4 separate regions of the Homo sapiens genome follow, and all the other regions are linked to region 1. The links are contacts of gene promoters, found by promoter capture Hi-C in blood cells and fetal thymus (Javierre and others, 2016). All regions are on one chromosome and are shown on one strand. The core of a region is centred on a gene start or on the middle of the fragment in contact, and the rest is flanking DNA. Distances in the headings are between cores, read along the strand shown. Region 1 holds the start of SH3BP5L (SH3 binding domain protein 5 like). Region 2 holds the start of LOC124904574 (a long non-coding RNA gene). Region 3 overlaps ZNF496-DT (ZNF496 divergent transcript). Region 4 holds the start of OR2B11 (olfactory receptor family 2 subfamily B member 11).

Region 1 (3,501 bases), core at 298-2,797:
TCTCAGTGCAAGAATAGCAAGCTAGGCTGGGCGTGGTGGCTCACGCCTCTAATCCTAGCACTTTGGGATGCCCAGGCGGGTGGATCACCTGAGGTCAGGAGTTCGAGACCAGCCTGGCCAACGTGGCGAAACCCCGTCTCTACTAAAAATAGAAAAATTAGCCAGATGTGTTGGCATGCACCTGTAATCCCAGCTACTCGGGAGGCTGAGGCAGGAGAATCTCTTGTACTCGGGGGTGGGGGTGGGGCGGAGGTTGCAGTGAGCCAAGATCGCGCCATTGCACTCCAGCCTGGGCAACAAGAGTTAAACTCCGTCTCAAAATAAATAAATACATAAAAAAGCACTCTAACTTCTATAGCTGCTAGCTAGCAGACACATCTGGCCGAATCGCATCTATGCCAATCAAATCTGTAATTTTTCACTTCTCCAACACTATTGAGCCCTGATCACCTTCCTTCCTTCATTCTCCCTTTGAAATGCCCAGTCACTTCTGTACAAATCGGAACAGAGGTCAGTTCTTTTCCTTTCTGTAAGTAGTTACTGAAAAAAGTCTTTTTCACTGCTTCAATGTCTAGCTGGGTTGTCTTTGACAGGATCCAAAAAGGAGGGGAATTCAGCCCATTTGCCTTTTCCATCTGCAGGGCAAAGTTTTGAGTTGACTCTGAGGAAGTTACGCCTTTTGTAAAAACAAAACATCCAACCCTGAATGAAGCCCTTCCCCTTAGGCCTAGGCCCTCCCCTCACCAAGCGACACCTAGAGGTGACAAGCAGGCGCTCGCTCAGGGACCTAGGTAACGATACACAATGCCATGTAACAAACTCCTGCTCATCGAGGGCATCTGACCCTGGGTGCACGAGTGAATTAACTGAGTTAATGTTGACTAAGTTCCTGGTTAGTATTCACGGAGCAATTGGTGACCCCACCAAAACGTCGTTCAAGGTGCAAGGTCCAGAGGCCTCGAGGAGTGGGATTTACACATCGGAGCCGTCCGCTCAGACGCCGTTAGTGGAGGGTTCCGCCGACTTCACGGGAGTGAGGAAAGTCACTTTTGGAAATCGACTTTGCCTTCGCCCGCGAAGCCCGCCAGCGTCCGGACTCGAGTTGCCCCCGGAGCCACTGCCGGAAGTTTACCAGCTCACTTTCGGCGTCGCGCCCGCCTCCGTGGAGCAGGCCGGAAGTGGCTTTCCGGCAGCCGCCGCCGCAGCTCCGTAAAGCAAGATGGCACTACTCACTCTGAGGCTATTATCTCCGTTTTATATCTAGTATTCCTCTTCTCACCAGTTACTCTCGATTTCCGTCCCGCGCCCTAATTTTCTTCAGCACCACATTCTCATGTTTTTCTTTCATTCAGCCTTGGTGGAGTATGGTCTGGAGGCAACCTACGGCTAGCCTGAGCAACGTGGGGCACCATTTTGTACGGAAACTGAAGGCAGGGCGGGGGAGTGTGAGGCCTCCCGAGGAGGCCCGGCTTGAGAGAGAGCGTGGGAGGGAGAGCGTTGTTCACCGATGATGTATTTCCGCTTCTGGTCTGCCTGGTCGTTTTTGGTTGGATCGGCTTGTTGCGGGGAGGGAGGGGGGGAGATTGTTTGCAGCATAGAAGCTCCGCGGACGGGAAGGTAAACTGAGGTAAGGCTGTGCGGGGGGCTTTTGCGCATGGCTGGGTAGAATGGACGGGAGTAGGGTCCTTGGGATTGCGGAAGAGTGTGGAATTGGAGACGGGAGGCTTAGATGTCTCGGGTTGGACAGAGAAGGTGGGGTGGGGCTCGGGGTTACAAGGTGAATCGCAAAGCCGGGCTGGGGTGGAGTGGGACGAGCGGGAGACCACAGGAGATGGAGGAGAGCCTAGGGGTGCAGAGGAAAGTCTCGAAGGCGCTGGTTGAGGAGGGCCTGGGTCGAGAGGAGCTGGGACGGGGGAAGAGTAGAATCTAAAGTCCTTGAGGGCTAAGGAGAGAAGTTGAGGTAGGGACTGGTCGGAATACATGGGTGGGGGCGTGGTGAGAGTGTAGTTTTTGGGAGGCTGTAGAGTTGGAAGGGGCTGGTGGCTGCGGTTTTGATGCTGACATGACCATATACTTGGCCTTTGTTTCTCTGCAGCTCCCCAGAGACGCTCATCCTACAGCCTCAGCTCGGGCCCAGCCTTCTCTCTCCAGCTGCCACCACAGCCTGGAGGCGCCTGCCTCCACCCTCCCGAATGGTGCTCCTCCTAGCAGGCCTCGGTCCAGGATCCAAGCCCCCTTTGCCCCCTGCCTTGGAGCTGTTGCTCCGGGTTTGTCACAGTGGACTCCCTGTGGCGGGAAGGGAAGAACTTTTGCACAGACAAGGCTTCAGCTCTAGGAACCCCACTGACAACTTGAATCTCAACCTCTAACCTAGTGTGAGGTTCTTCCTGTGCCCACCTTTTCTGCCTTTTGAGAAGAGAAACTCTTCTCCTGGCCATCTAGAGCCCAGGAAGCCCCAAGCTGGGGCCCTGGTCCCAGCATGTCAGTCCTCTCTTGTGCATAGGGCTCTGCCCTCCCCCTGTCAGCATGGCTGAGCTCAGACAGGTTCCAGGAGGGCGGGAGACCCCACAGGGGGAGCTGCGGCCTGAAGTTGTAGAGGATGAAGTCCCTAGGAGCCCAGTCGCAGAAGAGCCTGGAGGAGGTGGAAGCAGCAGCAGTGAGGCCAAATTGTCCCCAAGAGAGGAGGAAGAACTGGATCCTAGAATACAGGTGAGAGCACTGAGAGCAGGGAGAGAAGGAGAGCCCAGATTCCAGCCTCCCTGAAGAGTGTTGGATGAATGAGGGCTTAGACTTACTCTGTCCCCAGTCTGCTGGGGCAGGAAAGGAGAACAAGTTTGTCAACAAATCATTGCAGGGTAATGTAACAAGTTCCAAAAGAGTTGTGTGTCTGAAGTGCTGATGGAGTGCAGAGAAAGGCCTGGCCTTAGTGCTTGGGAGGCATTGCTGAAAGCTTCACTGAAGGAGCAAAGTGTCACTTGGCAGTAGATGGAGGAGGCACACTTTAGGTCAGTGGAGGGTAGGTGTGTTGTACTTCTTTCCAGATAAGCAGAGGGGCTGCCACCTTAGTTAGGGATGCTGTGTGAGAGGAGATGACTTTGATACTGGGGGACAGTTTTGAGGCTGAGTGAGAGAATCTTTTCCCCTTTCTCACCTTCTCAGCGGTACCTTCCAGGGATGTGCGGCCCACATTGCTCTGATAATGTGTTTCACCCTTGTAAACAGTGAGACCTTTCCAGTGTTATAAAGGTAGCATCAACTTTAGATCTATAAAGAAACCCCATATGTTCAAGGATTTGTAACTTTTGTTGTGGCCAATCCTTAGTAACATACATACCTGGCCCTCAGGATAGTGGGTCTCCTAAAGGAATGGAAGAGCAGTTTATTGCCTTGGAGTGTCTACAATCTAGTTGGTAGGACAGGCAGATCTTTGTGTAGGAGACCTGGGGGTAGTCAGTGAGGAAGACCAACTCCATGTGGAAGAGATGCCTGGCCAATCAAAGC
Region 2 (3,501 bases), core at 635-3,134, 1.5 Mb after region 1:
GGCTCCCAGACTTTTTATCAATTGGCAAATACTAGATGTGAGGAGAAAAATGTGGAGTTGTCAGAGGTGACTTGAATTTCAGAAAATGCTATGGAAAGAGTAAGGTGGCAGGAAGCTGAACAGAATTGATATTTACTTGTTTTGTTTGAGACAGGGTTTCACTCTGTTGCCCAGGCTGGAGTGCAGTGGCACAATCATAGCTCACCTCCTCGGCTCAAGTGATCTTCCTGCTTCAGCCTCCCAGGTAGCTGGAACTACAAGTATGTGCCACCTTGCCCAGCTAATTTTTAAATTTTTTGTGGAGATGGGTTCTTGCTATGTTGCCTAGGCTGGTCTCAAACTTCTGGACTCAAGTGATCCTCCTGCCTTGGTCTCTCAAAGTGCTGGGATTATAGGCATGTGTGAGCCACCACACCCAGCCAGATACTTTTTAAATTTTCCTAAGTGACATGGCATACAAGGAATAGCTGGACATAAAATTCCAGAACTGTGAGTAAGGATGTTTTCCCCCTTTACTAGATCGACCAAAACACTGTCCTACAATACCAGAGGAGTTTACTCTGGTATTTACTCACCCAAGAACCAATCACCCCATTTGAGGCCTGCAGCAAACCCTTCTTTTCTGGAAGGCAGAGTCCAAACACTACTCAGGGCTCCAACTTCCCGGGATGGTGGTGAGAATTAGGCAATACAATGCAGATAATATACCTAGCAAATGCTGAACATATTCCGTACAAAGTCTACTTCCCCATCCCTCCCTCATTCAGACACACACACATACCCCTGTAACACTGGGTCCCTGACCACTATCCTCTTTCTCTGAACATCAGTTTCCCTCCTGAAATTCCAAGGATGCTAGGATTCAATGCATTTAAGGAGCAGACAACAAAGACGATCACAAAGGATCAAACTCACATTCATGGAAACATCTGCGGAACTGTAACATCAAGGCGTTTCCCTCCTAAGAGCATCAAAACCTCTCCAGGCTGGGCGCGGTGGCTCACGCCTGTAATCCCAGCACTTTGGGAGGCCAAGGCAGGTGGATCACGAGGTCAGGAGTTCAAGACCAGCCTGACCAACATGGTGATACCTCGTCTCTACTAAAAATACAAAAATTAATCAGGCGTTGTGGTGGGCACCTGTAATCCCAGCTACTCAGGAGGCTGAGGCAGAAGAATCGCTTGAACCCAGGAGGCAGAGGTTGCAGTGAGCCGAGATGGCGCCACCGCACTCCAGCCTGGGGACAGAGCGAGACTCTCTCAAAACAACAACAACAACAGCAACAAAAACAAAAAAAAACCTCTCCAGGAGCGAATGTGAGAAAATCTACAAGATCTGTAAGGACTGAGAAAAGAGAACAGGCAGCCCTGCCTTTCATCAGGCTAAGAAGACAGACGAGTAACCCACTGTGCATTCACAGGACACGTGGTTTTCCCCAAGGTCTTGCCAAAGCTTCGAAACGCCACAACGCCCGCTTGACAGATGGACTCCTGCTTTCTAACCAAGAACGCCCTAGACCCACTTGCTGCACTCATTTATGACTGGGGGAACGCAACAACCAAGGCATCCTTGCCTCCTGACGGCCCATCACCCTCAGTGAACCCCTACTTCTTCTGAGCCCCCCTCTAAACAACAACCAGTGCAGATGCGACTCCCACTTCCCTGATACATTATCAATTATTAAAACTTCATACTTCCATGAGGCCTCAGTATCACACACAGGCTGTGAGTCCCCCAAGCAACTAGGCACACTGGTGTGATAAGCCTGGTCTCTGCCTCCAGGTCCCCTTCTTGCCTTCCCCCGACTGTGACCCAGCGACATTCCAATGCACCAGTAAAATCCCCTCATACCTTCTGCTTGTGTGCCCCACCCTGACCCCCCGACACAGGTACTTGCCCACGGGTTCTCTCTCTTTCTCGACCCCCCACCTGCACTGCAGAGCCTGGGCCCTTGGCTCTCATCCAACACGGCCCTGCACGCATGCGGTGCCTCCCTCTCCAGGACCTTGGAGCAGCATAAATCCTGTACTTTCATATCATTCTTGGACTGTAATTGCTGCAGCCACTTGGGAGTGATTCTTAAAGATCCCACAAGGGAGACTTACTCCCACACTTACATCACACCTGACATCATCCTCCTCCTCCCCTCCCCCTCTTCCTCCTTCTCCTCCTCCATCCGGAGCAAACCTCGCAAAAATACTTCTCCCATTATCAAGCCATATTCCAGCCTCCTCTGGGTGCCCTCCCCCGCTCACTGAATCAAGACGATAAATCTGGTCATTTCTGCAAATCTGAATTTGTCAAGGCACAAGCTTGTCCCTGATGGTCCAGCTGAATAAACATGAACAACCCAATGCTCAAGAATAGCTCCAAATACCAATGTTTGGGGTCTTTATTTTCTTGACTGTAGCATCCAACGCTGATTTCCAGGAAAAAGATGTCATCTCTTTAGTGACAACTTGGCCACTTAAAAGAGGTACTTTCACTGGAGCCCCTGAGAGTGGGTTATGTCAGCCTACCTGCAAATCTCAAAGTGTTTTTGCTTTCAAAAAAAGAAAAAATAAAATAGATGAACAGGCCTCTGTGACAGCTGGGAGGCCTCTATAGTGAGAAAATGTCATCATGCAAAGCTGTTTCACTGAGCAGCTTCTCACTGACCCCTTTCCACAGGCCACAATAAGGGACCAGATTAATGCCTTGCTGTCCATGCCCCCTAGATGTCTGTGACTAACACAGTAAGAACTAGCACTACTATTCCTAGGACTGTTCCTAAAGCCACAGTTTATTGAGTATCTACTATGCCCAGCTTACAACAGAGCTTCTCACATTGCAAAAAGCATGCAAGTCCCTGGTGCCTGGTTAGCCGCGCAAGCTGTGGTTGGGGCCTGTGGGTACTGACAGCTCCCAGAGAAGGCAGGTGTGGTTGGTCCAGTGATGGGGCTTCACATATTTGCACACCTGTATTTGTCATCAGTCTACAAGCATATTATGCGGAATGATGACCTCCTCTGCAGGGGGTGATGTCACAGTGGAACGGCTGCCCACCTGGGGGGCGATGTCACAGTGGAACGGCTGCCCACCTGCAAAGCACTGGGGCTTTAGGTTACACATCACATTTCCTTGTGCACACTTCACTTTCCAGGTTATATATAATTCACCCTTTCCTTTGTTATCGTCCATTCACCTTTCCACTCTGCAAGATGGCCGTCTCACGCCCTCTTCCTCCTGCTCTCACATTTCACCCTCTCTTTCTCCCTGTCACTTAAGGGCCCTGTGTAGCAGTCAGGGTTCTCCAGAGAAACGGAACAAATAGCATGTGGAGTGGGGGGAGGGAAGGGGGTGGGGATAGAGAGCTAGAGATCAATAGAGAGAGATGAGGGAGACTGTTTTCTTTTAAGGAACTGATTGGCTTGCAAGTCTAAAATCTGCAGGGCAGGCTGCAGATCCAGAAAGCCGAAGCTGCAGCAAGTCGGAAGGCGCGCCGCAGGGGGAGTTCCTTCC
Region 3 (3,501 bases), core at 732-3,231, 1.5 Mb after region 1:
GATTTATGCCTGTAATCCCAACACTTCGGGAGGTCAAGGAAGGCTTGCTTGAGCCTAGGAGTTTGAGAACAGACTGGGCAACATAGGGAGATCCCATCTCTACAAAATAAATAAACAAATAAATGAGTCAGGCATCGTGACACACGCCTGTGGTCCCAGCTACTCAGCCAGGGGTAGGCAGGAGGACTGCTTGAGCCTAGGAGGTTGAGGCTGCAGTAAACCATGAGCACACCACACTGCACGCCAGCCTGGGTGACAGAACGAGACTTTGTCTCAAACAAATATATATATATGATATAAAAAATATATATTTCTAACATGTATATGTTATATATGTATAATATATATCACATATAATATATATGTCACATATATAATATATATATCACATATATAATATATATGTCACATATATAATATATATGTCACATATATATATATATATATATATATATATATATATATATATATATATAGTGCGCCCAAGCTGCCTGTTTTGGATCCCCCTGGGATTTACAAAGAAGACGGGCCACCCTAATCTAGGGCCTGGGTTCCATGCTTTCACCACCACAGCCTGGATTTGATTCCCAGTCAGGAAACCAGACTCTTGGAAATGCAAATCTTTTAACTCAGGACAAAACAAATAGAAACATTTGTAAAAAGTTAGTTTGGTATTTGCATAACTCTGACCTTTTGGGGTACCCTTTCACTTTGCAATCCTGTCTATTCCCACAGACAGCTTTTGACTTCCCATCTTACAAACTGCCATGCAATCTTCCGTCTGTGGGAGATACGGGTTGTCAGGCCTTTGTGTGCAGTCAGCCAGCTGAGAGGCTGAAACCCTAGATAATATGGCCAGACAGTAGCCCCATTTGCAGCTACTAAAATTCTCCTTTATTTGAGCTGCCTGGAGTGGTCTGGATCTGAGCAGGGTTGCAACTTTTGCCTCCTCTCTGGAGACCTTGGTGAAAGCCGTGAAAGGCTTCTTGGTTCTGGTCTCCTTGGTGCTTATTTCACTTGGCGTTGAGTCATTTGTTCAGGTATACCTTTGATAGAAAACTGGTTTGTATTTAGAGTGTGATAGCAACTTTTTTCTTTTGTCTCGCTTCCTCCCGTGGGCAGAAGAGACGTGTGTCTCCCACCACTGCTGGGAAGCTGAAGAGAGGCAGGGCTCCTCCCATGAGCAGAGCGGGTGGGAGCGCTCCACAGCCGAAATTCTTTCCACTCCAGTGTTAGGCCACGTGCTCATGAAACAGAAAGCTTGCTGCTTGTGTATTTTCAACACACCCTTCTGCTTTTTCTTTTTTCTTTTAGTTTTTGGGGGATTTTTCCCTGGCAGATATATAGAGCAATGCTTTTTCTCTTTGGATCCTGTTCCTACCCTGGGAATTCTTTTCAGTCAACTGAAATTTTGTTAAAAAGCAATTTTATGTTCCTTCCATCTGTTCACTTTTTTGTTGTTGTTGTTGTCGGCATGATTTTTACTGAGAAAAATGTAAAACATCCTTGGCCTTTTTGGGAAGTTTAAAATCTTCCCAAATTGAGCCCTCTAAGAATTGTTTTCCCATTTACTGTTGGCCCTTCTTCCTTTCTGCCACCTTCAATAACACACGAAGAAATCAAGAGGGAACTTCTAGCAGTCCTGAGACCCCTTGAGAAACCAGAAAAAGGTGCCATACACCCTCCTTTTGGGGGTCTTTTGTCTTCCTCACGGAGCCCCAAGGGTCATGGGCAGGTTACTCTCAAGTCTAAAGCGCCGCAGTCTTTTGCATTGAGTTCCCTGATATTTTCATTTTTTTGAGACACAGTCTGTCTCTGTCACCTAGGCAGGGGTGCAGTGGTGCATTTGTGAGAAACACACTCACCCATCCAAACCCAAAGAATGGACTTAGAGGCACAAAGAACAGCGAAAGGGAGACTTTTCATAACGGTCTTGCGAGATCGGGTGTCTGGTGAGCAGGCACAACCAGGGCGGTCACAACGGGTAATTTATGTCCTAGCACACAAGTCCCTCCCCCAGTTCCTCACTGGTTGAGTACTGTGGGGTTACAATCTTCCCGGACATCGCCTAACTTTCATTATCCCCCTTACAAAGTTATACCCCGTCCTCTTCCCCACTTAAGTTTTGATTTCCCCATAACAAAACTTTCTTCCCTTTTATGAGCTGACCACACCTCTACATTCTGTCCACTTACTGTGACCTTCTGGGTGCATGAGCCATGTGGTTTCTTACATTTGCAGGCTGGCTGCCAGTGCTTAGACTTATCATGCCTTGCAAATGGACCATTTAAAAGGTTTTCTCACCAATTCCCTCCTCTTTTCTATTTACTTATTTTGTTCTCATTTTCTTTTAAACCCTTTTGGGCCGTGAATCGCTCCAGAAGTTGTTTACTTTCTTCCTCATAGGAGAGTGAGTTTAATTTGCTTTCTAATAGTGGCAGGTTATTTTGCTGGTAAGTCATGGGCATTTGTTTATTAATAGCTGTTTTAATTAATTTCTGTGCTAGTCCCCTCACACAAGGGATAATACAACATTCCACTGCTATTAAGAATCCTGCCACAATTATGAGAGATATAAGGATTGAAGCTACCATTCCTTTCCATTTTCCAAATCAGCCTTCTAGCCAACCCGTAAATGGGTCATTAATTCCGAGCATTTCTTCCAGTTCGTTGGCTAGAGTTGTTAGTCCTTGTAAAGCTTTTGTGATGGTCCCATTTGGGGCAGTATTGCTGGGAATGAAAGTACAAAATTTCCCGCCCAGCATAACACACACGCTCCCTTTTTCTCTAGTATCATGTCTAGCGCAAGTCTGTTTTCCCAGGCCATTTAGCTGGTGGCATCTAACTGGCTAGCCACCCTTTGAGGGCATCCCAAGTATAATTGATGAATTCCTGTTGATTATAATAGATGGAGTTAATTTAATTCGCATTCTTCTTAATAGTTGACCAGCAGAAGTGTCCTGACTTTAAACCCAGCACCTACTGCGTTTCAGGCCTTCAATTTATTAGGCAACCCTACCCCCACCAGGGTCTCCTATTGAGTCAACATACACATTGGGATTAAAAGAATTTGTGAAATCTCTCTGGTTTCAGTGGCCATGTGTATTTTGGGGTATCTTATGGGATGCCAGGGTGAAGGGAATGGCCAATGAGACTAAAGCACAAGTCCTGGTCCCATTGGACAGTAACAGGTTACGTAGGTTCCTTTTCCCATAATACTACCAGACATCAGCCCGGGGTGTATGGAGAGCTGAGTAATTGCCATTGCTCAACTCACCAGTGACGTTTAGGATGTGGGTACAAGTTGAGAGTTCTCCCATAGGCTTATGGAACTCTGCCCCCTGTCTAGAGAGGCAAGAGGAGTAGTTCATGTTCTCTGCAGAGAACGAGGGTATTGCTCTGGGATCTGAGCTCCGCAATGCAGGAAACAGCAATGAAAGACTCTTACAAGTCTTACTTCTCCTTACTTATATCATTGTGCTGGTATGCAGCCAACATGCA
Region 4 (3,501 bases), core at 508-3,007, 1.4 Mb after region 1:
TCTTTAAGATTGCTTTAAGATCAAATATGGCTGCTAGGGCGCTAGCCATCAAGACTACGTTCCATGCACAAAAATAGAGAATGGAGGATTGGCTAATATTTTTCCAAGCTTTCCCAGTAATTTTATCTCATTAGCTTCCCCTATCTGTTAGAAAGCCTGGAAAATATCATCACATCACAGAGTACCTTGCTGCATGGAGTAAAAGGGGGTGCCAACAATAAGAGTGGGAGAACAGATATTTGAAGAAAGATGATCAAGACGAGAATTAGCACAATTCCAGTGGGACCCTGTGTCAGTCTCAGTCGTGGGAGTTTCCAACTACAATTGCATCTGGGTTTTCTCAGCACAAAACTGTTTATTCCACCTTTCTTCCCCCAACTGCAGAGATATGGAAGCCTCTCCACTTCTGGAAATTATCCCAGCTGGATAACAAGACAGTGTCTAAGGCCGGGCACGGTGGCTCACACCTGTAATCCCAGCACTTTGGGAGGCCGAGGCAGGCGGATCACCTGAGGCCAGGAGTTCGAGACCAGCCTGGCCAACATAATGAAACCCCGTCTCTACTAAAAACACAAAAAATTAGCCAGGTGTGGTGGTGGGTGCCTGTAGTCCCATAGACTCGGGAGGCTGAGGCAGGAGAATCACTTGAACCCAGGAGGCAGAGGTTGCAGTGAGCCGAGATCGCACCACTGCACTCCAGCCTGGGAGACAAGAGTGAAACTCCGTCTCAAAAAAAAAAAAAGTGTCTAAGATGTCCCTGGTGCCTCATCTGGCTCTCCGTGGGAGAGAGTACAAGAGAGCATGCTTAGAATCAGGGACAGCTCCCACTTCTTCGCCAAAGCACAGTCGCCCCATCTTCTTCTGGGACATATTCTCTCCTCCCTCCATCCCCAGAAGGTAAAAATAGAGCCCTAACTCATGGCCATGACTCACCCTGTGTCCACTTAGACATCTAAAGCTAGAGAAAAAAGACGATCGAGTCAAAACCTAGAGAGGGAGAGTAACTGCACCAAGGTGCTGCTATTCACAGTGGTTCCCATAGCAGCATTTAATCACATGAATTGTAGCTCATGAATTAAAATTTGCGCTACAAGAATTCTATTTGGCCATAAAAAAAATGAAGTCATATCTTTGCTGCAATGTGGATGGAATTGGAGGACACTATCTTAAGCCAAACAACTGAGGAACAGAAAGTCAAATACCAGATGTTCTCAGTTACAAGTGGGAGCTAAATTATGTGTCCACAGGGATGCAGAGGATGGAGTAAGAGACCCTGGAGACTAGGGTGGGTAGGACGGTGTCAGGGGGTGAGGGAGGAGAAATTACGTGGGGTAAAATGTACGTTATTCGGGTGATAGTTACGCTAAATGCCCAGATTTCACCACTGCACAATATATCCGTGTAACAAAATTGCACCAGTAGCCCTTAAATTTATACAGATAAGAAAATAAAAGAATAAATAAAATAAAATGTGCACTACTTCTTGCGGCCTGTCTTAAGAAAGATTTTTTTTATCCCCTCCATGTGAAAAATATAATAGGGTGCTGAGACAATATATCAACAACAACAACAACAAAAAGCCCTCAACATGTATCACTCTGTGCCACTCATTGTTCTGAGTGCTTTACAAGAAACAATTCATTCCACCCTTGTAACAGACTGTGCAAAACAATACTAATGTTTCTTGTATTTTTAAGAAAACACAAGTGAGGCACAGATAGGTTAAGTAACCTGCTCAAAGACACATGGCATGAGTGACCGAGCCTGGTGTTGAAGCCAGTTCAGGTCTCATGCTTTACCTGAATCACACACTCTAGTTACTACTCCACTCTGATGTTACAGTAATCACCTCACCACGCACCAGCCCTAAAGAGTTCAACACACACACACACACACACCACACACCAGCCCTAAAGAGTTCAACACACACACACACACACCACGCACCAGCCCTAAAGAGTTCAACACACACACACATACACACACCATGCACCAGCCCTAAAGAGTTCAACACACACACACATACACACACCAGCCCTAAAGAGTTCAACACACACACACACACCACGCACCAGCCCTAAAGAGTTCAACACACACACACACACGCCACGCACCAGCCCTAAAGAGTTCAACACACACACACACCATGCACCAGCCCTAAAGAGTTCAACACACACACACACACCACGCACCAGCCTTAAAGAGTTCAACACACACACACACACCACGCACCAGCCCTAAAGAGTTCAACACACACACACACACACACACACACACACACACACACACAGAGTTCTTATTCCCCATTATTGATCCATTTTCTCTGGTCTTCTGGGATTTGCCATTAATTGCAAGAACTCCAAGCTCTCACACCACCTCAATTATCAGCTAACCCCTTAGACACTAATTAAATAAAGCATCAGGGATAATTTCACAGCCAGAGGAGAGCAAGTTTTTACTCTCACGTCTGGGGAGAATGAGCAGGGCCCTTATAGAAAACAGTGGAGAGAATGAGGTCAAGTTAAATCTGAGGGATAATTTTGAAATGAACAGAGAGCGTGACACGGGCAAGGTGTGTTGCCTGAAAGCCTTATCCTCGGAAGTAACCTCCACCATGTCAAGGTACCTATAGGCACTCTGGGGGACTAAGGTTAAGGCAGTTCCACCGACCTCACGTACTGCCAAGGGAGAGTCCGGGAAACCCTGAGTCTCCCCAGCAAGCCTGTTGCAACGGACAGCAGACTCCTTCTAGACTGAGAATAATCTCTCAGACTTGCTCAGAGGGTTGGGTTCCAGTAAATGGTAAGGTCCCAGCAGCCCATCAGAGGAAATGTGCTGTGTGTTCCTGGAATATGAAGAGCATTTCTAGTAAGTCCATCCTTAAATGTCCCTCCGCGACTAAGGCCAACACAGACTGCAATATAGCCTTCAGTCCTAAAGCAAGTCTTCTGTAGGAGCCAGGAACCCTGGAGGTGAGTGATTCATCCTCAACTCCAGTCAAACTGAAATCTGTACAGTGCAGTGGAGGTGCAGGATGGGCAGTATTAACACTGGGCTATGCTGGAGACCAAGGGCACATGAGGTGGAGGATGGATGGGTCGATGAGCAATGGCCACGTATTAAGCAGCAAGTGTAAAATTGTGTTGTGTGGTTTTATCTAGAAAAGAGAGCCGGGAGCAGAACAGGATGCTCTGCCTGGAGGTAGGCACGCTGTCTGACACTCATCTGAACAGTGGACGCTGCACACAGTGTGTGGGGACGCTGAGTCCCTTTCCTCCGCTTCCTCCTATTTTTGAGGCTGCTGAATCACAGTCACAAGGGCAGTAGTGAGCTGAGCAGGGCCATGGAAAGAGAGAAAAAGAGAATGCAGAGCTGAATCGTATCAGTCCCCGAGAAAGCAAGCTTCAGGTTGAAAAATCTGAAAAAGTCAGACCACATAAAAAGGCGATGACGTGTGGTGGTGGTAGGGGGAGGCATGTGCAGAGGGGCTGACCCTGCCTG

The links. Contacts are between HindIII fragments. The CHiCAGO score rates a contact against its expected background, and 5 or more counts as called.
Region 2: a contact is called between a fragment that was not itself captured here and the fragment with the promoter of SH3BP5L in region 1, in 1 of 17 cell types (fetal thymus). The highest score is 5.4, in fetal thymus.
Region 3: a fragment that was not itself captured here is called in contact with the fragment with the promoter of SH3BP5L in region 1 in 1 of 17 cell types (M0 macrophages); the score reaches 5.0 in M0 macrophages.
Region 4: a fragment that was not itself captured here is called in contact with the fragment with the promoter of SH3BP5L in region 1 in 1 of 17 cell types (M0 macrophages); the score reaches 11.2 in M0 macrophages.

The regions. Positions count from the first base shown.
Region 1 is chr1:248,823,961-248,827,461 of GRCh38, reverse strand. It overlaps SH3BP5L (SH3 binding domain protein 5 like), which reads left to right and starts at 1,547. Exons shown (of 7, transcript NM_030645.3): 1 at 1,547-1,627; 2 at 2,096-2,709. The coding sequence starts at 2,527. MIR3124 (microRNA 3124) reads right to left here and starts at 1,085; the gene lies at 1,019-1,085. RefSeq lists enhancers at 856-955, 1,026-1,075, 651-1,201, 1,186-1,445, 1,202-1,753 and 1 more. The HindIII fragment of the contact is 10,505 bases long and covers 1-2,952 here.
Region 2 is chr1:247,336,095-247,339,595 of GRCh38, reverse strand. The region is part of intron 1 of ZNF496-DT (ZNF496 divergent transcript); the gene reads right to left. LOC124904574 (a long non-coding RNA gene) reads left to right here and starts at 2,860. Exons shown (of 2, transcript XR_007067004.1): 1 at 2,860-3,142; 2 at 3,432-3,501. RefSeq lists a silencer at 1,835-2,129 and an enhancer at 3,283-3,501. The HindIII fragment of the contact is 860 bases long and covers 1,455-2,314 here.
Region 3 is chr1:247,358,919-247,362,419 of GRCh38, reverse strand. All of the region lies in intron 1 of ZNF496-DT (ZNF496 divergent transcript), which reads right to left. Among named protein-coding and RNA genes, the nearest start is that of ZNF496-DT, 29 kb to the right of the region's middle. The HindIII fragment of the contact is 1,438 bases long and covers 1,263-2,700 here.
Region 4 is chr1:247,457,110-247,460,610 of GRCh38, reverse strand. It overlaps OR2B11 (olfactory receptor family 2 subfamily B member 11), which reads left to right and starts at 2,507. Exons shown (of 2, transcript NM_001004492.2): 1 at 2,507-2,972. The HindIII fragment of the contact is 3,294 bases long and covers 111-3,404 here.